Regions from separate parts of the Homo sapiens genome. Here regions 2, 3, 4 and 5 are each linked to region 1. Evidence: promoter capture Hi-C in 16 types of primary human blood cells and fetal thymus (Javierre and others, 2016). All regions are on one chromosome and are shown on one strand. Each heading gives the region's core, a stretch centred on a gene start or on the middle of the fragment in contact. The rest is flanking DNA. Distances are from core to core; before and after follow the strand shown. Region 1 holds the start of LARGE1 (LARGE xylosyl- and glucuronyltransferase 1). Region 2 holds the start of LINC01399 (long intergenic non-protein coding RNA 1399). Region 3 overlaps LINC01399 (long intergenic non-protein coding RNA 1399). Region 4 holds the start of ISX (intestine specific homeobox). Region 5 has its middle 25 kb from the start of LINC02885.

The links. The method cuts DNA at HindIII sites, captures the fragments that hold promoters and counts their contacts. A CHiCAGO score of 5 or more calls a contact.
Region 2: a fragment that was not itself captured here is called in contact with the fragment with the promoter of LARGE1 in region 1 in 1 of 17 cell types (endothelial precursors); the score reaches 5.0 in endothelial precursors.
Region 3: a fragment that was not itself captured here is called in contact with the fragment with the promoter of LARGE1 in region 1 in 1 of 17 cell types (endothelial precursors); the score reaches 9.1 in endothelial precursors.
Region 4: a contact is called between the fragment with the promoter of ISX here and the fragment with the promoter of LARGE1 in region 1, in 1 of 17 cell types (endothelial precursors). The highest score is 6.4, in endothelial precursors.
Region 5: a contact is called between a fragment that was not itself captured here and the fragment with the promoter of LARGE1 in region 1, in 6 of 17 cell types (endothelial precursors, megakaryocytes, M1 macrophages and 3 more). The highest score is 15.7, in endothelial precursors.

The regions. Positions count from the first base shown.
Region 1 is chr22:33,918,595-33,923,185 of GRCh38, forward strand. LARGE1 (LARGE xylosyl- and glucuronyltransferase 1) reads right to left here and starts at 1,882. Exons shown (of 15, transcript NM_133642.5): 1 at 1,401-1,882. LARGE1-AS1 (LARGE1 antisense RNA 1) reads left to right here and starts at 2,631. Exons shown (of 2, transcript XR_001755630.2): 1 at 2,631-2,929; 2 at 3,813-4,461. RefSeq lists silencers at 1,410-1,509, 1,780-1,929, 2,250-2,749. The HindIII fragment of the contact is 4,427 bases long and covers 93-4,519 here.
Region 2 is chr22:35,228,292-35,232,882 of GRCh38, forward strand. LINC01399 (long intergenic non-protein coding RNA 1399) reads right to left here and starts at 2,765. Exons shown (of 6, transcript NR_126356.1): 1 at 2,707-2,765. LOC105373017 (a long non-coding RNA gene) reads right to left here. Exons shown (of 4, transcript XR_938210.3): 4 at 4,352-4,591. The HindIII fragment of the contact is 1,047 bases long and covers 2,249-3,295 here.
Region 3 is chr22:35,155,547-35,160,137 of GRCh38, forward strand. All of the region lies in intron 4 of LINC01399 (long intergenic non-protein coding RNA 1399), which reads right to left. Among named protein-coding and RNA genes, the nearest start is that of LINC01399, 73 kb to the right of the region's middle. RefSeq lists an enhancer at 2,686-3,517. The HindIII fragment of the contact is 3,837 bases long and covers 1-3,705 here.
Region 4 is chr22:35,063,451-35,068,041 of GRCh38, forward strand. ISX (intestine specific homeobox) reads left to right here and starts at 2,708. Exons shown (of 5, transcript NM_001303508.2): 1 at 2,708-3,012; 2 at 3,302-3,866. The coding sequence starts at 3,638. The HindIII fragment of the contact is 3,728 bases long and covers 209-3,936 here.
Region 5 is chr22:35,020,731-35,025,321 of GRCh38, forward strand. No RefSeq gene overlaps it. Among named protein-coding and RNA genes, the nearest start is that of LINC02885, 25 kb to the left of the region's middle. RefSeq lists an enhancer at 3,176-3,766. The HindIII fragment of the contact is 3,270 bases long and covers 193-3,462 here.

The sequences.
Region 1 (4,591 bases), core at 632-3,131:
ACCAAGCGTGCCAGTGAGTAATTCATTCATGTCACCCATTTGTGAGGGATGGGAGAAGAAACAACCACCACTTGTTCCCTTCTTAATTTAGAAGCTTTCCTTATCTTAAGTCTATCAAAGCTGACTCCTGAGGTGGGAAGACAGGAGAAGTGAGAAGAAAAATTAACCCGAGGTGACTGCCTCCACGGAATGATAAGCACTTCAGGTCTCCACACCTGTGTCAGAGAAGAAAGGCATCTGCATGTCAGGGAGGCGGACGCCCCCACCTGCCACCCCCTCCGTTTCTCCCCTTGAAGGAAGCAGGAGCCTGATCTCCCCCCACTCCCTCCTCTCTCTCTCTCTCTGGGCACTTACATAAGACCCTGTAAAACTTCCAGTGACATTCACGAAAAATGTAAGCTGCTATTTTGCTCCCTCAGGAGATCATTTTAATGGACTGAGTGACAAAATTCACGGATTCTGAATTCAGCAGAAACCTGCTCAACCGAGGCACATCAGCACAGAGACGAAAAAAAAAAAAAAAAAGAGTCCAACCCCATTAAACAGGGTCACCCAAGGGATGGATTCAGTGTGCAAGAGACAATCTGTTCCCTCCGAAGTGACCCATTTAAAATCAGATTGTTCTGGGGGAAGCTCACAGGTTTAATAAATTTCAAACAGGCAAGGACAGGCTTGTACAACTGAGGTTCCTTAAGAGGAACATTTAAAAGAGGATAAGGCAATGAACAAAATAACTTGAGGATACACAAACTTTGGAGTCCTCACTCCAAAACTTCAAAAGCAGTGACATTTACAAGAATGTCTGGATAGCTATACACTGATCACTCCTCACAAGCAGCTTTGACTAACAGGAAGGACATGCTGGCTGGGCTTCCCCCCTACAGATAGCAATGCCAACCAACCACTCTGTCCTAAAGAGGGACTCGCAAGCTGTGGCTGCTCGCCCCCAAATTGCGCAGGACTGTCTGCAAGAAGGAACAAGAAAAGTTATTCACAGCATCACACCACGAAAGGTAGTTGCGTACCGCCCAACAGGGCCCTCTCCAAACACGGCAGGCTCCGCGAACCACAGGTGCTCACCGCTAACAAGAGGGCCGGGGGTGCGGGTATCGGTCACATGCCCTCGTGGTGTTAACCAGAAACTCCTCCTGGCTCGCTCCCTGCCAGCAGCCTGTGTGCCCAGAAGCCGAGCAGGCCCTGAGGGGGTCCTGGGGACTTCGGAGACTGGGGGCTTCCACCTCCAGCCTCTCCAGGGCTCCCGGCCGGGGCAGCAGAGGGTGTGCCCGGCCTCCCCGCCGGCATCCCGAGTACAGGGGGTACCAGCCACAGGTTCGGAGAACTTGTCCGGCGCTACACACCACGGCGCCCCCGCGGCGACTCTCGCGCTCCGGGGCTCTTACCTTGGCCGTGACTGCCGCCAGGCAGAGGGAGACACGGAAGAACAGGGTGGCGCGGCGGCGCCGCCGCCTACGAGGCGCAGGGGGTCCGGGTCAGGGTCCCGGCAGGCGCTGCCCTACTCGGAGCGGCGGTGCCAAGCACAGAGTTCGGGACTGCCCCCGGCTCCAAATGCCGCGGCGAGGGTCCGGGTCCCCCAAGCTGAGCACTGTCCCTTCTTCCTCTTCCTCCGGGGCCGCTGCCTGGAGCTGCTCCCGGCCCGGGGGACTCTTCCGAGCCAGGGGCGCCCCGCATGGGCAGGGGCCTGGGTCAGCCTCGGGTTGGGTCCAGGGAGCGACCGCCGGGGCCGACTCCACCTCCCGCGCTCCAAGCCGATTCGTCCCTTCAGGGCAGGGCCTGCCCGCGAACAGCCCGGCGAGACGAGCGCGGCCGCGCCCCCAGCTTCGGGCGCCCGGGCTCCGGCGCGGCGGCGGGGCAGGAGCAGACTGGCCGGGCCGGGCGCCGAACGCGGCGGCGCGGGGGGGGCTGCAACCGGCCGCGGCGCGCTCTCCCCCAGGGCCTGCGCCGCCCGCCCGCGGCTCCGCGGGAAAGAAGCGCCGGAAAAGGCCTCGCCCCGGCCTGGGGCGCGGGGCCGGGGGCGCGGGGCTAGGGGAGGCGCCCCGGGAAGGTCACGGGAGCGGAGGCGCGGCGAGTGGATCGCGGCGCGGTGGGTGCGGGGAGCCGAGGCGGGCGGCCCCCGCCGCCGGGAGCGCTCGCCGGCCTTGGCCGCCGCCGCCGCCTCCGAGATGCGCCGGCTTCCCGGAGCGCCCGGCGCTCGGAGCTGGGCGGCCGCTGCAGCCGCCGCGGGCAGCCGGGCGCCGCTGGCCGGAGCCGGCGCGCGATCCCCGCCTCCCGCGCCCGGCCAGGAGTGGGCCGCCGCGCGGGAACCGGCAGGGGCGGGCGCTGGGGTCCGGGCTCCGGGCTGGCCCCGCCGCCTCCGCGTGCCCAGAGCGCCGGACTCGCTCAGCAGCTGCAGTGACTGTGTGTCTGTGTCATGTCTGTGCAGCCGGGGGGGACCGCGAGCCGGGGCTGGGTTCCGAGCGGGGGCGGGGCCGGCGCCCGCGTCGGCGCCCGCCCCCGACCCCGTGACCGAGCGGCCGGCCAATGGCAAGCGCCGCAGCCGCGCGGACCGAGAGTTCGCCCCCGCACAGGCTCCGCCCCCCGGCGAGACTCCGCCCCGGTGCTTCTTCAGCTCGCTGGCTGGCAGGCAGGCGGAAGCAACACCCGGAGCCGGGATCCCGGGCCGGGTCGGGATGAAAGGGTGCAAGCTGGGAGCTCCCCGCCCTTCTTCCCCCAACCCCGGCGGCTCCCGGCCGCCTCGGGCTTGGCGTGCCTCGCGGAAAAAGGGGGAAGGGAAGCGGGACGGGCCCGCAGCTGCCGTGGTAGAGAGGCTCGCAGGCTTGCAGGACCATGCAGCCTGCTCCCCAAATTGCACAAAACAGCCGTCGTGAGAAGTAGGAAGTTTCCCCGCCTCGGGTCGCAGCTTCTCTCGGAGGTGGGCATGCTGTGGGGCAGCCGGAGTCTGTGAGGAGCCCCGCCGAAGGGCTCTGACGGCATCTTTCTGGGATCGGTATCCAAGAATCCTGTCCAAGGCTTCCTCTTCCTCTGAGGAAACTACATTTCTTTTTCCTCCACCCCAAACACACACCCCATGCACGCACAACACGCCCCTCCCCTGCTGATTTTATTCTCGCTCTTTCCCTCTTGGCATAAGAACCCGGCGCGCAACATCCCTTGAATGGACTTCCAGCCTCCCAGTTCTAGGGACCAGGGTGGGGGTACGGAGAGTCCTCCCGAGCCACAGGAGAAGTGGGTGAAATGGGTCGGGGCACAGGAGCGGGGGTGTGAGAATGGATGGAAGGAGGATGCCCTCGAGAGAAGACCCAGAGGAGGCGAAAGCAGAGAGGCAGGGAGAGAAAGAGGACGCCGAGAGCTGCACAACTCGGACTCGGAGACCGGAGCTCCGGGCGCGCGATCCAGCTCCCGGGTTTTTCCGCAGCTCGGTCCCAGGGCTTCTGGGGTCCCCTTCCCCCCGGGTCTCCACCTCTCCCCAGCCGGGCGGGCCGCCGGGTCTTTGCCTTCCCTCTGCGCGCCTCTCCGCTCTCCAGGACTCGAGCGAGGCAGCGGGAAGCCCACCCTAGTTCTTGGAAGGGGCAGGGGAAGGATGGGCTGGGGAGGGGGCGCGCGGGAAAGGGCCGCCGAGCTTGGGTTGCCCAGCTGACCCCACTCCTCGAGGTCGGGCTGGGGGGGTGGGGCGGCAAGGGCTTCGGAGGCTTGGCCCCTGCTTGGCTCCGGACCTGGCTCCCGCCTCGGTAACCACACTCTCGGCCTTTGGCTTTACCGAGCTGGGACCCTTCTCCCATCCCCCTTCCCTCCAGCCTCGTGAAACAACGACCCCCACCAGCAGCAGCAGCGCCCGCTTTGCCCCGGCTCCGGAGCGCTGTTTACCTAATCTCAGCGGCTGACCGAGCCCAGCAGAATGCGAAAGGGAGGCAGCGGTGGTACAGCAGCGTCCCCGGCGAAGAAGTAAAAGACGTTTGCTTTGGAGCTTCGGGATAAGTTAACTGCGAAGCTGGGGTCCTGCTGTCTTACCTCTGCGGCGATGAGCCTCACCGTGCACGTTGGCAGGCATAGCAGATTCTGTTTCTGATGCCATTACCGTGTCGGAGAAGAACATTATATGAAAAAATACTATCTAATATCCTAGAGACCATTAAAGTGTCAAAGTTTAATGCCAAGTCTTTTAGCTCGAAGGCTGCTCAGTTCTTCCTCTGACGTGCAGCTCTGTTCCAGAACGCGCTGAAAACAAGGGGATCATTTTTATTTTTTTGCCGCCCGAATGTCCTTCCTTCCTACTCTCTTCCTCCTCTCTCACCCCTACCCCCTCCCCGGAACCGGGTAAAGTTAAAGGGAGAATTTGTACTTTCTTTTTACGTTTTGCTTTGCTTCACTTCATTAGTGGTGTAAAATGCATTATTACAGCACATTAGCATATTAATAAAGGTAACGTGACTGAGGAAAGGAAAAGACCTGAAATTTACAAGCGAAGGAGAAATAGTTGAATAACATCAGAAACTAAAAGATAAGCTTCCGGGAAAGAAACATCTCCATTATAATGACTCAAGTGTAGTACATTCTCTAGATGGAATCTAAGAAA
Region 2 (4,591 bases), core at 1,522-4,021, 1.3 Mb after region 1:
TAACTCCCAGTGAGACTGTATTTGGGGCTAGGGCCTTTGGGAGATAATTAGGCTTAATGAGGTCATGAGGGTGGGGTCCTCGTGATGGGATTAGTGCCCTTATAAGAAGAGAAACAGACATCAGCGCTCTCCCTCTGTCTTGTGAGGACACAGTGAGAAGGCAGCTTTCTGCAAGCCTGGAAAAGGGTCCTCACCAGACCCTACCACACTGCACCCTGATCTCAGACTTCCAGCCTCCAGAACTGTGAGAAATCAATGTCTGTTATTTAAGCCACACTGTCTATGATATTTCATTAGGGCAGCCTGAGCAGACTAATATGTAAATGCTGTGCATTGTGCTAAGAAAACAGGTTTTCCCTGTTGTCCCAAAATTCTGCATAAACCCCCAAACTAGGGACAATGGGCATGAAATCCTCTCACATTCTAAAAAGCACAGTGACATAGCCATGCAAGATGAGCCAAGAAAGGACAGAAGTACCTCTGCCCCACAGCCATCACCCCTTCCCAAGCCCCTCCAACCTTTATCAGCAAAAGACCTGGAGGAATTCCAGAGGACTCACTAGACAAGGGAGTATTTGAAATATGGGGAGAGCGCTGTGTCTTTTCGTTTCCTGCTGTACGGCCCTGGCTCCCACCCAAGCCAACTTCAAGAAAGTCATTTGCAAAGATTAGGGCTATGGCATCGTTTGGGTTCCCCAGAAGGAGACCTTGAGGCAAGAATCCAAGGACACGTGACTAACTTGAGAGATTATCCAAGGAAACTCCAGGAGGGGAATAAGAAAGAGCTGGAGAAAGAACGGCAGTGAAAAGGGTGTGGTTATTGAGAAGTGACCACTGTGGATGAGAGGGAATTCATCCTGCTGTGAAACACTGGGAGCTAGTGAGGAAGACGACTTTCAGAGTCATCCCACCAGGGGGCAAGGGACCTGGGCATTTATTAATACACGCCAACACTCACCAGTCATCATGGAGGGCTGCTGCTGTGGTGTTAATTTCCTGGTACTTAGGCCCACTACTCTGGCCCGGGGCCTGGCCACTGTAGAACGCCCTCAGGCAAAGAGATACAGGGGCTGCCCTGGAGGTTAGCCAGTGAGCACTTTAGCAGAGACAAGGAATGTAGGTAGGAGACATTGCCCACATCCCAGCATCTGCTAGGGGCTGCCTGAAAGAAAAGGACCCTAGATCTGTGTTTCTGCAGCAGACTCTCTGATCTGCCCCTTAAGTCTAACAGAACAGGGGAGAAAAGACCTGGAGCGAGGCACAGGGTAGGGGGTGGAGGTGCAGCAGCAGGCACTCCCACTATAGCATGGCAAAGATGCGTGAGTCTCCCACAGGCGGAGAGAACACCACTGAAGGACCAAGACTTGAGCAATTTCCACGTCCAAAGATCCTAATCATTACCCAAGGAGACTTGAGTGGCAAGAAGCTGTGGGCTCCCCCTGGCAACGATGGGGGCTAATGGGGTGGTCAGGGCTCCCACAAGAGCTCTTCACGAGGACCTCTGAAGAACCCACACAGGCACCCTGAGAAACAGCTAGCATCCTGCCCATTGCTCCCAACCTTTCCCATCCCTCTCCCGGCGCAGGTCTCTGGGGCTGGGTCAAGCCTGAGCGGGAGGGTGGGAAAGAGGAGCATTAAATGAAAAACCAGATTGAAGTACTTAGCTGCAAATGACCAAAAATCTCAAGGATCTGCCTACGATATTGTAAGAAAGATAAGAGTAGAGCAGAATATGCCCCCACCTGGTTCAGACAGTTCAATACATCCTTGATAACAACCAGCTATTGAGTACCAGACACACAGCGAGGTGTTCCTCAGGGCTGAGCTCATCTAATCCTCTCAGCAACCTTAGGGGAAGGTGTTACTGTCCCTACTGTACAGCTGAGAAGTGTGAGGCTTAGAGAAGCTACACAGTTTGCTCAGGATCATACAGGCAACGCATAGCAGAGTCTAAATTCAAACTCGGACCATTTTCATTCTGGTGCCTTGTTCATCAACTGGTAGGTAAATTATGGTATACCCATACAATAGAATACTAGTCAGTAACAAGAAGAAATGAATGACAGATGCATGACGGAACCTGGATGAATCACAAAAACGTTATGCTGAATGAAAGCAGGCAGACACAGAAGACTACTTTCTGTAGGATTCCATGTATATGAAATTCTAGAAAAGGCAAAGCACAGTGCCAGGGAACAGATCAGTAGTTGCCAGAAGCCAAAGACTGGAGAAGAAATGGGGCATGGGAAGCTTTCTGGGGTGGTAAAAATGTTCTATACCATGGCCAGATTCTGTGGCTCATGCATGTAATCCCAGCACCTAAAGGTGTTAGCAGAGCCAAGGAGGCTCTAGCCATGTGAGGGCATGGGCTGGAGAGGAGGACAGAACTAGAGAAATAAAATGAAATGACAGGTGGTAGAGTTGAGAAAGGGATGGACAGGGAGCAAATCCTAGAGTAAACATCTGACTGAAAAGAGACTTAGAGATGAACTCTAATCCAATGCCTGCCCCCACCTTTAAAGTTGGGGAACTGAGACCCAAAGAGAAGATTAAAGCAGCGGCAGTGGTGCTGGGGGGGCTGTTTACCTCTGTATTGGTCCATTTCACACGACTCTAAATAACTGCCTGAGACTGGGTAATTTATAAAGAAAAGAGATTTAATTGACTCACAGTTCCACGTGGCTGGGGAGGCCTCAGTAAACTTACCATCATGGCAGAACGGGAAGCAGCCATATCTCACACGGCAGCAGGAGAGGACGCTTGTGAAGGAAGTGAAGGGGGAGGAGCCCCTTATAAAACCATCAGATCTCGTGAGAACTCACTCACTATCACGAGAACGGCATGGGGGGAACCGCCCTCATGATCCAATCACCTCCCACCTGGTTCCTCCCTCAACACCTGGGGAGTACAGGTCAAGATGAGGTTTGGGTGGGGACACAGAGCCTAACCATCTCAACCTCCTTTATTTCATTCTTTCAACAAACATTTACAAACAGCTTGTTCTACATAGCAGACAGTCCAAGTCAAACAGGGCAGAGCCCCTGCTCTCCGGGAGTCCACAGCCGGAAGACGGACAGCCAGATGCCCTGGAAATTTACACTTCATGATGCTCAAGACGCTCAATGTCCCAGTCCCCCAGGCTGAGTTACCAAAGTATTGACATAAGAAAGGGGACTACAGATTTGAGGAGCCCGCAACTTATTCAGGAAGCCCTCTTATGGGAAAATGATACGAAATTATAAATGCAAAGTTAGGTACAAAAGCAGAAGGGGTCTGTACAGGTGAGAAGTCCTGAAGCTTAAGCTTCTTTAGCTTTTACAGCAATTCCTTCCCTGACCACACCTGAATTCAAGGGCAAAAACATACTTCTGAACTGGGCCAACAGCGCCCTCTAGCGGACCCACAGAGGAAGGCCTCAAGGAGCTCTGAGCTTTGGACACACCCACGCAGGCAGCGTAAAGCCAAGCAGGTAAATTTGGCCATCGGCTTCCTAGACACTTTCTCATCAGCCCATAGACCTGCCCTTCCTAACCCTAGAGGTGTGCAATTATTATTAGAAGCTTAGAGCTCAGCGTCCAGATGGACAGTTCCTTGTAGTTCCTTGATTTGGGGCAGGTAACTTAACCTTTCCACGTTTGTTTCCTTTACTGCAAATAAGTTGTGTCATAATGAGATTAAGTAAGTACCTACTTCAGAGGATGGTTGTAAAAATTAAATGAGATGACTCACTTTTATGATGTCTCTAAAATTAATTTTAAATAGACTCACTTATAAGTGCTTTATACAAAGGGCACTTTGATGTGTAATTTTTATTATTATTATTATTATTATTATTATTATTGAGACAGAGTCTCTCTGTTGCCCAGGCTGAGTGCAGTGGCGCGATCTCGGCTTACTGCAACCTCCATCTCCCAGGTTCAAGCGATTCTCCTGCCTCAGCCTCCCGAGTAGCTGGGACTACAGGCGCCTGCCACCACGCCTGGCTAATTTTTGTATTTTTAGTAGAGACGGGGTTTCACCATGTAAGTTATTTTTTAAGGAAAATGTATTCACCTGGCCATATTTTCTGCTTCTTCATGAACTCTTCTGAAGAAATTACCCTTACTACACACTCACAAAGGACCACGCAAGGCCCAGTTACACGGTGCAGGGTAGAGACAAGGTGTGTCTGTCTCATCCACCATTCCACAGACCCCTAAAGAGTGAGGTGGGAGTTTATTCATCTCCCCATTCCCCCCAGCACATCCCTGGCTCATGGCCCATCACAGGAAAAGTCACTTCATGGATCAATGTCTGGAGAGGGTACAATGTCGGTGTGAGATGAATGAATACTAAGTGAGTACTCTTCATGTTTTCTTCTAACTTTATATTTTAATATAATTTCAGATTTAGAGAAAAGTTGCAAGAATAATGAAGGATGAATTATCAGGGGCTCTTCTTCCAAATTCCCCAAAACATGCACATTAAACTCAGGGCCTTCTGTGTCCTCTGCCCCTTTCTCTCTCGATATGCTTGAGTGTGTGTGCATCATCTTCTGAACCATCTCCAGTTAGTTGCAGATGTGGTCCTCTTTTGCCCCCAAATCTTCAGT
Region 3 (4,591 bases), core at 537-3,036, 1.2 Mb after region 1:
TGATTCCTGCACACGCTTAAGAACAGCGACTATTTCCAGAAAACCCAGTAGGAGGCAGTAGAGGGATGGTGGGGCAGAACAACTCTGGGGTCAGCATTCAAAGACAAAAATTCTCATCCTGGTTGTGCCATTACTGGGTTGCATGACCTCAAGTAAATGAATCCTCCTCTCTGGTCCTCAATTGTTAATAAATAAATAAATAAACAGGGAGGAGGGGTTGGGGTGCTGGCTGACATCATCTCCAAGGCATTTTCCAGTAATAAGATTTCAAAATTCTCAAGAGGCAGGCTGCGGACATAGTGGTTAGGCACACAGACAGCTGGACTGCCTGGGTTTGCAGCTGGTCTCTACCACTCGCTAGCTCTGTGACCTTGGCCAAGTTACTTAACCTCTCTGTGCCTCAGTTTCCTGATCTGTTAAAAAGAAGAAGAGTCCCTACTTTATAAGGCTCTTAGAAAGACTACGTGAATTGATGTGTAAAATATGTAAAACACTACCTGGTCCTCCTAAGTATATAACGTGAGGTGCTCTTAAGTCCTTATCAGTCCTTTAAAAACCTCATTAAGCCATGCCGACTGAGAGGAATTCTAAAATGGTGACATGACGATTCTAGATTTTGGAATACTTTGAAAGCGAGGTAGTTTTAAAGTGCCCAGCATACATCCTTTCCTTGTCCCATTTTTCTGGCAACAGAGCGGCTTTTCAGGAAAATCCCATCCATCCATGCCAGCCTGAACAATACCCTACACACACACACACACACACACACACACACACACACACACACACTGGCAACAGAGCGGCTTTTCAGGAAAATCCCATCCATCCATGCCAGCCTGAACAATACCCTACACACACACACACACACACACACACACACACACACACACACACACACTCTCTCTCTCTCTCTCTTACTTTTCAAGGAATAGCCGTGTGACCAAGTTTTGGCCAATCAGAGCTCTCCGTACCCCAGGTTCAGTGATTGGTTCAGGAGTGGGCACATGACCCAGCCCAGGCCAATCAAAGGAATCTCTGGGGCTTTTGCTAAAAACACTAGAAAACGGAGATATTCTTTTCTCTTTTCTCTGGGATCAGTAACTATGCAAAACATATCATTGTGGAGCTACCTGGTCATCCTAGCTGCTACAGGAAGAGTGCCTGCCTGAGAATGGGATCAATACAGAAGAAAGATTAGCCAAAGGGTGGAAAGAGACGGAGTTCCGAGGGCATGATTTGACTTCCTGGATCCAGGCACACCAGACTCCAGACACCCAAACTTCTGAGTTATACAGCCCAGTCATTTCTTTTTTATTTATTGAGCTGGGTTTCTCTCACCTGAAACTTGACTAAAGAGTCCTAAGGTAGGTATTATGGAATGTCTGATCCAAACAAGGTTACACAGATGGCAGAACTTTATTGAACCTAGTGTATGCAGCTTTAAAGGCCATGCTTTCTACATTAATCCACATTGCCTTCTGTGAACCACCCACTCCCCTCCCTCAGGAGGAATTACTTGAAAACAATGACGTTGGATGTTGATTGGTGGTCCACAAAGGGTGGTTCCTGGTTCTGCAACAGCAGCATTGCCTGGAAACTTGTTAGAAGTGCAAATACCAGGCCCCAGCCCAGATCTACGGGGTCAGAAGCACTGAGGGTGGGGCCCATAAGTCTTTTTAACAAGCACTTCAGGGCATTCTGATGTACACTCAAGAATGAGCACCTCTGCCAGAAATGAACAAATCAACTTCATTTTGGTTTAATTATTTTCTGGGCACCGTTTGCCAGAGCTGGGGGAGTAGAGATAAGCCAGATGAGGCTCTTGACCTCAAGGACTCCGAGTCTGGTGGTGATAGCCAGATCAGCACTCCACATCCAGCCAGCCATCTCTTAGTTGGGGGCATTTGCAACTAGCATCCATGTTTTCCTGGCAATGCCAAACTTTCAAACTTCCAGCCATTCATACTCATATCCTCTGCCTCCACTTTCTCATCTGAAAGGCTCCTCCTCATGCTTCAATACCCAGCTTCAATATCCCCCTCCCTGAGGCCTCCCAGCAGAATTAATTGCCCCTCACCTGAGAAGGGTCCTGCAGCAGGGCCTTCCATCCTTGCTCAGGACGTAATCACATTGCAATCACATTGCATTAGCAGTGCTTGTTGGAAAAGTAGTGTCTCCAACCCAGCTGTAAGTAATTTGAAGGTGAGCACTCTGTTCCCTTCATCTTCTATCCAGAGCCCAGCACAGGGCCTGGCACACAGTAGAAGCTAATAAATGCTTGATGAATGAATTAATACTTAAAGGCAGCTCTGAAGGATAGCAAAGGCTCACGTGCACAGCCTGAGAGAGTACAGAGTTGACCTGAGTGGGGACCCAGATCCAGCAGCATCAGCACCCACACACCCAGGAGCCTGTCAGCAAGGCACAGTTCAGGACCCACCCCAGACTTACTGAATCAGAGGCTGCTTTCACACAAGATGGCCAAGGGACCTCTTTGCATTTTAAAGTTTGAGAAATTCTGCCAAGGGCAAACTTACCCTTCTGCATTCATAATTGAAGGGATTATAAACAAAGTTGATGTCATCCACACAGAACACCTATAGAGGCTCTGTCAGTTGAAGCCATTTTCTTCTCCCCTTGGGAGAGCTCCCAACTTGACATGTTCTGGAAAACTGAGGGGCCCAGGGAGAGCCCTTTATTTTCTCTTACCCAGGACATAGCTGGTGGGTAGCATTCTGAGAAGACGGCAGACAGCACTTCCTCCCTCAGCCAAACCCTTGGCATTGCAAAGGCTTCCAAGAAAGATACAGAGAGTTTAGTTCTGGTCGAAAAGTCCCCACTTATCTAAGAATGCAATCAATAATGGCAAGGGGAAATCAATGGGGCCAGGAGATCTATCTCTCTGTGTATTTATGGAGCGTGGATCCCTGGTTGGCAGGAGGCTTCGGCAGACCAGATGGAGCCTGTGCCTGCTTCCCGGAGATCCTGATTCCCTTTCCAAGAATTATGGAGTGTCCTTTGTCTCTGCTCGATAACACCCTGGAGTTACAGAGCCATTTAGAAATGAATTGGCTCATTTTTCTCCCTTCCCCTTGCTTATAGTGACAGGTCACCCGGGCCAAAGAGTTATTAAAGGGACAGATAGGACACTTTGCACATTCCGTCTGGCTCCACCAGCCTTCCTGTCAGCGGCAGGCCCCAAAGCTCTAACTCCTTGTCAAAGAAATAACATTCGAGGAAAAAAAAAACAACAGGTAAAAAACTTGAGGCAAGGGTATTTTATTTTATTCCAAGTACTTTTTCCATTTTTTTCCATAGAATTTCCAATTATCTCTCACCTCTAAATATGCCATTGCTAAAAGTCTCATGAGCAAACTGAATGCATGGTTTATTTTTCCCAAAGTTAGCAAAACCATCTCCTAAAATTAAATTTACCTCCAGAGGAGGATTTAGACAAGTCACTTAACCTCTCTGGTCTGTTTCCCCATCTATGAGGATGACAATCCCAGCTGCTAAAGTCACTTCAAGGAAAGTGCTTCATACGGTGCGTGAAGCCTAGGAGATACTCAATAGTTATTCATTCATATTTATCTACAAAGTATTATTATTAGAATATTAATTGCTATTTCCTGAGCTCTTACATATCTCAGGCTCTGTATGAAGTTGTCAGAACTTTTCACAGGCAGTGGCTTGAGCAGAGGTTGAAGCTTTGGCCCTGCCATTTACTAGCTGGGGATGGGGTGTTGGGCCATCATGGGAAAATCAACATCCCTCTAGGCTTGGACCCAGGGCGCCTGCAAGGTGGGGGTGGAGATCCTGCATGAAGCCGCACTGAGATGAGGGTGCCTAATGTAGCCTCAGCTCCACTCTGTGCAGCAACAATTCTATGAAGCCCTCCAGAGGGATCTGAGCTCCTCCTGGAAGCCTCTGCTAAGGATTCTGAGGTGATGTTGTGTATCTCAGTCCCTGGGGATGGAGCTTTTGGGGTAGTTGGTAATACTAATAAATTCAGAGCTATATTTAGTTCCGGTCTTTAATGTTCTCTACAGCTCTCTACAGCTCACATGACTGTCTCCCTGTCCATGGCTGTGTTACGGCTCACTAGAAGGCAGCTTTTCCAAACTTATCAAATGGGTCATGTCCAGCTCATCTCTGTAAGAATGGAAAGCCTCCTGAGAATGTGCTCTATGACCTTCCACTCACCCCTAGATTAGGATATGTGGGATGCCCATAAGCCCCCAAATCCAAAATACTCTACTCTTGCAGAGTAAAAACCAAACAAACAAACAAACAAACAAAAAAAAACACCAGCTGGGCGCAGTGGCTCACACCTGTAATCCCAGCACTTTGGGAGGCTGAGGCAGGTGGGTCACGAGGTCAGGAGTTCGAGAGCAGCCTGGCCAATATGGTGAAACCCCGTCTCTACTAAGGATACAAAAATTAGCTGGGCGTGGTGGTGCACACCTGTAGTCCCAGCTACTCGGGAGGCTGAAGCAGGAGAATCACTTTCCCCCGGGAGGTGGAGGTTGGAGTGAGCCGAGATTGCGTCATTGCACTCCAGCCTGGGCGACAGGGCGAGACTGTCTCAAAA
Region 4 (4,591 bases), core at 1,458-3,957, 1.1 Mb after region 1:
ATGCATGCCTCAATGTGTCCCTGCTCCAAGTCTTTGTTCCTACAGTTATCACCACATGACCTACTCATTCTTTGGTGCCCAGTTCAAATTCTGCTTCTGAGAGTCAGTAGGGGACACTAGAAAGATCAAGGTAATTGACTCAGCATGGAACACTAGCTGTGCCACTACATAGCTGTGGGACCCTGGGCACATTACTTAAAGCCTCTGAAGCTTAGTTGCTTCACTGTAAAACAGGGCTAAGATATCTACCTTAGCAGAGTTTATTTGCTTGTGAGTTTTACAGTAGATTCAATAAGACAATTCAGAAAAGGGACTTATATATGATGGCCCCTCTCCTTCCTTTGTTGTTCCTCCTCTTCAAAACTTTCATTAATCCAACAGCCACTCAATCTCTGACTTCTCTGACCACCCACAAGATTCCATCACGGACCATTGATACTTCCTGCCTTGTGTCACTGTACGTCTGCAGCCATGTCCCCCTTCCTCCCACCCCACCCCACCCCCACCCCAGAATGTAAGTCCCTCAGGGCAGGGGCCATATCTCTTTCATCTACATCTCCAGAGTGTTTGGCACATAGTAGATGCTCAAGAAATATTCATGGAATGAGCATACATGTGAGTGATAAAAGAATTGAAGTCAGTAACGTCAGGATTATGGCTAATCATGGGAGAGAGGGGAGTAAGCGTCCGGGTCCACACCACAGAAGGGTGTTCTGTTAACCTGTCCAGGGGCCAGTCACACCTTGGAAAGAGGCAAAATGAAAGGAAATCAAACAAGGTGCTGAAAACAACAGGTGTAACTCTGGCAATTTCTCTCGCTGCTGCTCAGTTCTTCACCTGTGAAATGAGAGGGCTGAGCCAGATGGTCTCTGGGTATTACAGCAAAGTGGGAGGGATGTGAGGTGCAGAGCCAGACTCACCTGAGTTTGAATCTTGCTGCTTCTAGTGGCTAGCTGTCCTATCACTCCACTTCTCTGGGCATGTCTCCTCAGCTGTTAAATGGCATTAATGACACCTAATTGATCAGGCTGTTGAATGGATTAAGTGAAACGGTGAGCACACAGCTGCAGGCACGAGGTCCAGCAGAGAGAAAGGGCTCCATCGCCTCTCTCTTTTTGCCTCTGCCACTTCCACCCCCAAAGATCCTGTCCTTGCTCTTGACCAAGCATCTCAAGTACCCATCAGAGCTTCCTCTGCCCTGAGTGTAAGGAACCTTGTCCTCTCATCCAACAACCCCTTCCATGGACCAATGGTGGGCCTGACTTCTAGGGGACTCTGGCCTCTTCACTGCAAAAGTCAACAAACTGGTTCATTTGTCTCCTGGCAGGAAAACTCCCCTGTCCAGCCCTAGGAAAGGGATAGGTCTAAGCAGGGTCATGTGACTCCCTCTGGCCACAGAATGTGAGCAGAAGGTCTATCAACCACTTCCACTTCTGACTCATCAAAATTTCTCCTTTCAACAGAAAACCAAATACTGAATGTTCTCACTCATAGGTGGGAGTTGAACAATGAGAACACATGGACACAGGGAGGGGGAAAATACACACTGGGGCCAGTCAAGGGGTTGGGGGCAAGGGGAGGGAGAGCATTAGGACAAATACCTAATGCACGCAGGACTTAAACCTAGATGATGGGGTGATAGGTACAGCAAAGCACCAAGGCACATGTATACCTATGTAACAAACCTGCACATTCTGCACATGTATCCCAGAACTTAAAATTAAAAAAAAAAAATTCTCCTTTGCTGTCTCCCTTTCCCCAGAAAACTTGGAGCCTATGATTGGAGAATGGTGGCATCACTGTTTGAAAGGAATCTGGGTCCCTAAATGACTACATTAGAATGTGATGTGGGTGAGCTATTATGCTCCCAAGACTATAGGGTTTACTTGCTACTACAGCAGAGCCTATTCCCCCCCTAACTAAATCAGACAGCCTGACACTTCCAAGGGGCACAGCTCCTAAAATGGGGCATCTTTACCTGTTCCCTCTCTCAGGGTGAGTCCCTCTCTCTCCTGACTCACTCTTCTCAGGGAGTGGAGACCAACGTTCCCTATCCTTCACCTCCCACCCCTGCCCTCTATGAGAAGATCTAGATTCTAACATCCAAATTTACATTCACAGTCTCTGCCAGGGTATCCATCCCTCCTGTGCAAATTGGCTCCTTGTGGCCAGCATGGCATCATGGACATCCCCAGGGGAGTACTGTGATCAGGCCCTGCCATCACATTTTCTGTACCTCCTTGGTCTGGACCTCAGTTTCCCCATATCAGAAAGCCCTGGAATGCTTTTCCTGATCTGATATTTGCAAGCCATGGAAAGCACATCTGAGAGCAAATGAATGCCTAAGGCTGACAGCCAGCAGACTGCACCTCAGCCCAGCCTCCCCCACACATGACCACAGGCTCTCCTGGCTGAGTAAACATGTTTTATTGGGCCTGGGTACACTTCCTGGCCATTCTGCTCCCACCTTCCCTTCCCCTGCTCTGGCCAGTTCCCCAGCACAGCCCCTCCCTGGGGCCTCCAATACCTGTCCTTCAGATCCCCACTGCCTCCTGCCACTTTTCTACCCTGACACCTGCATCCCCAGCCTTAAGGGGCGTGGAGAGTTTTTCTCTTATCAGCCTGTTTTACTGCCCCCTCCTCCTTGGTTACACAGTAATTTGGAGCAAAATTCCAGGCAAGGACAGATCAACAACTGTCAGCTCCCAGTCAGAGAGAAAGGGCCTCTTCAGTCTGTCTCAGGAGACTGGGAGAAACAGCATAAAGGACCCCACAAGGAAGGGAGAGGTACCCTGGGTCAGGCGCTTGTGGAGAGAGGGCTTCGCATGTAAAGTGACGTCAGGGAAAATAGAACAGAAAAAAAGCCAGGGCCAGCCCAGAGGCACCTGAGAAGAATCAGACCCACAGCTCAGCCCAGCCCTGGCACAGAGAAGAGACAGGCCTGGCAGCACCCAGGGACCCCCTTTCCTCAGCCTCCACCTGCAGGACAGCAGGAGCACTGATGCGCTGAAGGTACGTTCTGGAGTCTGGAAGCAGCAGAACTGAAGGAAGTAAACACGGGTGTCTGGGAAGACCCCTCAAGCTGCAGTAAAGCCCAGGACTGAATTGGCCACCTGAGGCCAAGGGTGGCACTCCAACCTCCTCCTAAAGGCTGGCTAGAGCCACAGGAAAGGGCCAGAAGCCAGAGAAAGGGCAAAGGTGGACCCCTGCCTCCAAACCTCCTCTGGAGACTGACCTCCTCTTTCCTGTGCCTTATTGTTTCTCCCTCTTCTCTTTGTTCGCCACTGGGCGGTGACCTCAGGGATCCTGGCCTAACCTGGTGATTGTGCAGGCAACTGTGTCCGAGAAGACCCTTCTCTGGAAGATTGAACCCCAATTCAGCCATGGTGACTCCTTTGATGTCAAACTGGTAAGGGCTGAGCCGTGGGCACAGGATACCACTCCTTCCAGCTCTTCTGCTGTGACCTGCCCATGGAAGTCCCTGTGGACACGAAATCCTGTTTGGATCATCTAACTGGAGGCTCTCTGTTCTTCACCTCCACGCGCCCTCTTGACCCCAGGAGGTTCAGGGGAGGAAGTACGCCACTCTCCACTGGCACCCTCCTTGGCCTACACAGAGTCACCCCTGAGCCCCTCAATGTGTGCTGAGGTGGGCCCTGCTCTCTGCAGGGGTATGGAGAGAAATAGCTTGGGGTGCTGTGAGGCCCCGAAGAAGCTGAGCCTGTCCTTCTCCATTGAGGCGATCCTAAAGAGGCCTGCCAGGAGGAGTGATATGGACAGACCAGAAGGGCCAGGTGAAGAGGGCCCCGGAGAAGCTGCGGCCTCAGGCTCTGGGCTAGAAAAGCCTCCAAAGGACCAGCCCCAGGGTAAGTGTCTTCTGATCATTTCTTTCTGTTTCCTGGTCTCCAAGACCCAGCTGGGCTCAGGCAGAGAAAAAGCTTCTCCGTCCATATTAACTGGATAGAGGACTCTAAAATTCAGAGCAAGACCTGGCTCTGGGCTGGTTTCCTGATATACCTTTCAATCTAACCCAAAACTGTGCTTTTCAGCTTCAGACACCAAGGCTCAGTTAGTTGCAGAATGCAGGGACCTGGGGCTTGTTATTGTAACCAGGCCCCGGCTAAGAATGCTAGTTACCATTTATTCAGCATTGACAATGTCATAGGCATTCTCTTTTAATTTCAGTAGAAAAGCATGATTATCATAACTGGACAGATAAGAAAACTCATCTGTGAAAGAGAAGAGGAGGATAATGTCCCCAAGTTACACAGCTGGTAAACAGAAGCCCCGCTATCAGGACCTGGCTCTGACTCCCCCAAATCCCTGCTGGGCCCAGCACAGTCTCCTCCTCATAAGCCAAGTTCAGTCTGCACAACTTCCAGGGGCTGAAGCTTTGCCCAGGGGCCGAAGCTTTGGCTTGGGAAAAGTCTGTCCACCCTGATCACCTTCCCCAAGCCAGTGGCCACCCCAAGGCATGTCCCCAGATAACAGTGACCAGGTAGATCGAGAGCTGGCTTGAGGAAGGGAGGAAAGCCGCACTGGGGCATTGGTGTGGACGCACACACCTGCTAACAGTCAGGAACCCAGGATG
Region 5 (4,591 bases), core at 578-3,077, 1.1 Mb after region 1:
CACCACCACATTGCAGGGAAGAGTGAGGTCCCAGGCACAGAACTGCGTGAACACAGCCAGCTGGCCACAGGGCCCTGGTTGAGCACATCTGGGAACAGCAGTGCTGTGCTTCATTAGGCTCAGTCATCCAGAAAGTGTTCCTAGCCTTGGGAGATTCTGGATTATCTAGGGCTGAAGCTGTCCCTCCTGGTAAGCTTCTCCCACGAACCTTACCTCTGGCCTCGATGGTCACAGTGATTAAACCTACCCACCCACTCGCTGCATGTCCTCTTCTGCATTTTTAGTGTCCCCCTGCTTTGGCTGGGCATCCGGCCCCTCACCCTCTCCTCCTCGTCCTCTGGATAAAGGCTGCCATGCCAGCATCCCCTCAAGCCCAGCAGTCCTGGTTCCCCAGACACCACTTCCCAGCACACGGCCTCAGAAGAGACGCCCAAGCAGCTCAGTGTCTTCTAAACACACACCCTGATTTTTCACACAACTACTGCCAGTTTTCTGTTACATCAGGGAAAGTAGGCGAGGGTTTATTTTCCCAGATCCTCCAAAGAATGCCCCTGAGCACATGCAGGCTTGTTCTTTCCTGGACTCATAAAACATGGTATTTACACAGGTGTGACGCAGGGTGCCGCCCAGCTGAGCCTCTCTCCCACCCAGCCAGCGTTCAGTATCCAGAGCTTGCATCTGCCCATCTGGGCCAGGCTCGGTGCATCTGTCCCCATGGAGCTGTCCCGGTGGAAGTTCTGCCCCCACTGCTTTGTCCTAAAGCTCCCTAATTCTTCTTTTCAGAATCTTTGCCCGCATATATCCTCTGGACAGGGCTGGAACAGGACAGCAACTGTCAGAGTGTGCCCTGCAGAATGGCTGGAGTCAATGGGAATGAAGCGGGAGAGAGAGAGTGGATTCCATGGTCAAGTGAGACTGAGAAGCTCTGGGTAAGACAAAACCACATCGGTTCCTTTACTGTCCGACTTCCCAGGGCCTTGAGTGTTCCCAAGTGTATTAGAAATCTACTAGGGCCAGGCGCGGTGGCTCACGCCTGTAAATCCCAGTACTTTGGGAGGTCGAGGCAGGCGGATCACCCGAGGTCAGGAGTTCGAGACCAGCCTGGCCAAGATGATGAAACCCCATCTCTACTTAAAATGCAAAAAATTAGCCAGGTGTGGTGGCGTGCCCCTGTAATCCCAGCTACTCAGGAGGCTGAGGTGGGAGAATTGCTTGAACCCAGGAGGCGGAGGCTGCAGTAAGCTGACATCACACCACTGCACTCCAGCCTGAGTGACAGAGGGAGACCCCCATCTCAAAAAATAAAAAAAGAAAAAGAAGTCTAATAAAGGGACATTGTTTGATTCAATAAATATTTATTGAGCACCTATTATGTCCCGAGCATTGTTTTAGGCACTGGAAACACACCAGTTGATAAAATAAACCAAAAATAGAATTATTTGTTGACAGACAAGAAATACAGGAAATAAGTAATATACCGAGAATGTTAGAAGGTGATCCATGCTACAAAATTTTTTTTAAAGCAGGATAAGACAGATGAAAGGGCCACGGAGGAGGCGCAGGTTGCAGCTGTAAATAGGGTGGTTGGACTAGATCCCATTGAGAAGGTGGCGTCTGAGCAAAGGCCTGGAGGACATGGAATGAGCCAGCCAGGCAGAGAGGATGAACTAGCCAGTGTAAATGCTCTCAGAAAGGGTATGTTCGGGGCACAGAGGAGGCCAGTGTGGCTAAGTGGAGGGGGCCAGGGGACAGTGGCTGGGGATGAGCTAAGGGAACTGATGGGGCAGACTGTGTAGAGACAGTCCCTCAGCTTTGGCACTATTGACCTTTGGGCTGGATAATTCTTTGTCGTAAGGGCCTGTCTCGTACATTGCAGGACATTGGCCGGCATCCCTGGTCTCTACCCACTCAAAGCCAGTAGCACCCTCCACCCAGTTGTGACAAGCAAAAATATCTCTAGATATTGCCAAGTGTTTCCTGGGGGGCAAAATTGGCCCCAGTGAGATTCGAGGCATGGAGAAGTGAAGTCACTTACCCAAGGTCACTTTGACTCATACCAATCTCATACCATGCTAACCCATAAGGCGGGCCACTGCTCCCGAGTGCAGAGTCCTGAAGTTCTGTGTGAGGGAGCAGCCTGGGTGGAGCTGTCTTCTCTCCACCAGAGCATGCCCACACAGCAAGCATCCTCCAGCCGTGCCTGGTCCTCCTGACCATGTCTGAGCTCTTGTCCCTCCCCTACCCAGCAAACTTACACATCCTTGTTCTCATTTCTGTTCAAGGCAAGGTTCCAGGAAACGGCGGGGCCCTAGAGCATGAGGTAGGCAACCTGCTGAGACCCCCAGTTGCCGACCGAGGCTGGCCTGCTCTTGAACCTGGTTCTGCCTCTTCCCAGCTGTTTGGCCCTGCAAGACAGATGAGGATGTTAATTTAACCTGCAGCACGTGACTGTGGTGAGGCTTAAATGAGAAAACGTTCATGAACCCATCTAGCAAAGCGCCCAGCACTGAGTAGGCTCCTAGATACTGGTTTCTTTCTAACACCTTGTCACAGTTTCCTAGCCCTGCCATAACAAACGACCACAAATTGGGAGGCTTAAACCAGCTTATTTTTATTCTCTCACAGTTCTGGAGGCTAGCAGCCTGAAATTGAGGTGTTGGCAGGGCCACGCTCCCTCTGAAGGATCAGGGAAGGATCTTTCCTTGTCTCTTCCAGTTTTTGGGTTCCCTTGCTCATGGCAGCATCACACCAATCACTGCCCCATCTTCACATGGCATTTTTTTTTTTTTTTGAAACAGAGTCTTGCTCTGTCGCCCAGACTAGAGTGCAATGGTGCAATCTTGGCTCACTGCAACCTCTGCCACCTGGGTTCAAGCAATTCTCCTGCCTCAGCCTCCCAAGTAGCTGGAATTACAGGCGCCTGCCACCATGCCCAGCTAATGTTTTGTATTTTGAGTAGAGACGGGGTTTCACCATGTTGGCCAGGCTGGTCTCAAACTCCTGACCTCAGGTGATCCACCTGCCTCTGCGTCCCAAAATGTTGGGATTATAGGCGTAAGCTACTGCGCCCGGCCCTTGACACAGTATATGTGTCTCTCTGTGTCCCCTCCTCTTATAAGGACACCAGTCATTGAATTTAGGATCTACCCTTCCCCCACCAAGGGAGGCCATGGGCAGGTCTTCCTTTCTCACAGTCTGTGCCTGTGTTTCCCCTCCTGCAAGCATGACCTTCCTGGTCCCCGGGCCCCAGGTGTTCTGGGAATATCCTGGGGCTGACCTCAGGCAGGAGAAAGGAGTTTGCTTCCCTGACATTTTTTATTCTGGATTAACCCAGCGAATCTTTGGGGACTGCGAGGGCACGGACACGGTAGAATCCCAGGTGGAAGAAGGCAAAGTGGGCGGGAGGGGAGAACTTGCATGTTTTAACCTTTTTCCTGCACCCAACCCCGCCATCCGACGCCAAGCTTCCAGTCAAACCTGAGACCACAGCTCCCCCTGGCGGTCAGCGCGAGCCCGCACCGCGGCTCTCCTGTGCTCACGCAGCCCTGCGCGGCGGAGGTGGCTGGAAATGAATTTAGCGTCAGCACAGTTATTTAAATTGTTTTAATTAATCACAGATTGAGCAGTAAATGAACCACTAAGTGGAGAGAGCGCGCGGGAGCAAGCGAGAAAGAGGTGAGGGGAGGAAGGCAGAGCCTAGGTGATGGCTCGAAAAAGCACAGACAGCTTCAGAGTGGGGCAGGAGGAGGGGGTACAGGCACAGGTCGCAGAGCTGTGCCCCCCACTCCTGGTGCCACACGTTGGGGCGGGGGGCATTCCAGCCCCAGTGGGGTTAGAAGGAGCGCAGAGCCTTGGGGCTAGGGCCTGCCTTCTCCCTTGACAAAAACGTTGAAAGGGGCCGGGCGCGGTGGCTCAAGCCTGTAATCCTAGCACTTTGGGAGGCCGAGGGGGGCGGATCACGACGTCAGGAGATCGAGACCATCGTGGCTAACACGGTGAAACCCCGTCTCTACTAAAAATACAAAAAATTAGCCGGACGTGGTGGCAGGCACCTGTAGTCCCAGCTACTCGGGAGGTTGAGGCAGGAGAATGGTGTGAACCCGGGAGGCAGAGCTTGCAGTGAGCCAAGATTGCGCCACTATACTCCAGCCTGGGTGACAGAGCGAGACTCCGTCTCAAAAAAAAAAAAAAAAAAGGTTGGAAGGTTGGCTAAAGAGAAGACAAAGCAGGAAGGGGGAGTAAACTTAGTAAATTTTTTTATTATTATTATACTTTAAGTTCTGGGATGCATGTGCAGAACGTGCAGGTTTGTTACATAGGGATACATGTGCCATGGTTTGCTGCACCCATCAACCTGTCATCTACATTAGGTATTTCTCCTAATGCTGTCCCCCGCCCAGCCCCACTCCCCAACAGGTCCCCAGGTGTGATGTTCCCCTCCCTGTGTCCATGTGTTCTCACTGTTCAGCTCCCACCTATGCGTGAGAACATGCAGTGTTTGGTTTTCTGTTCCTGTGTGAGTTTGCTGAGAATGATGGTTTCCAGCTTCATCCACGTCCCTGCAAAGGACATGAACTCATCCTTTTTTATG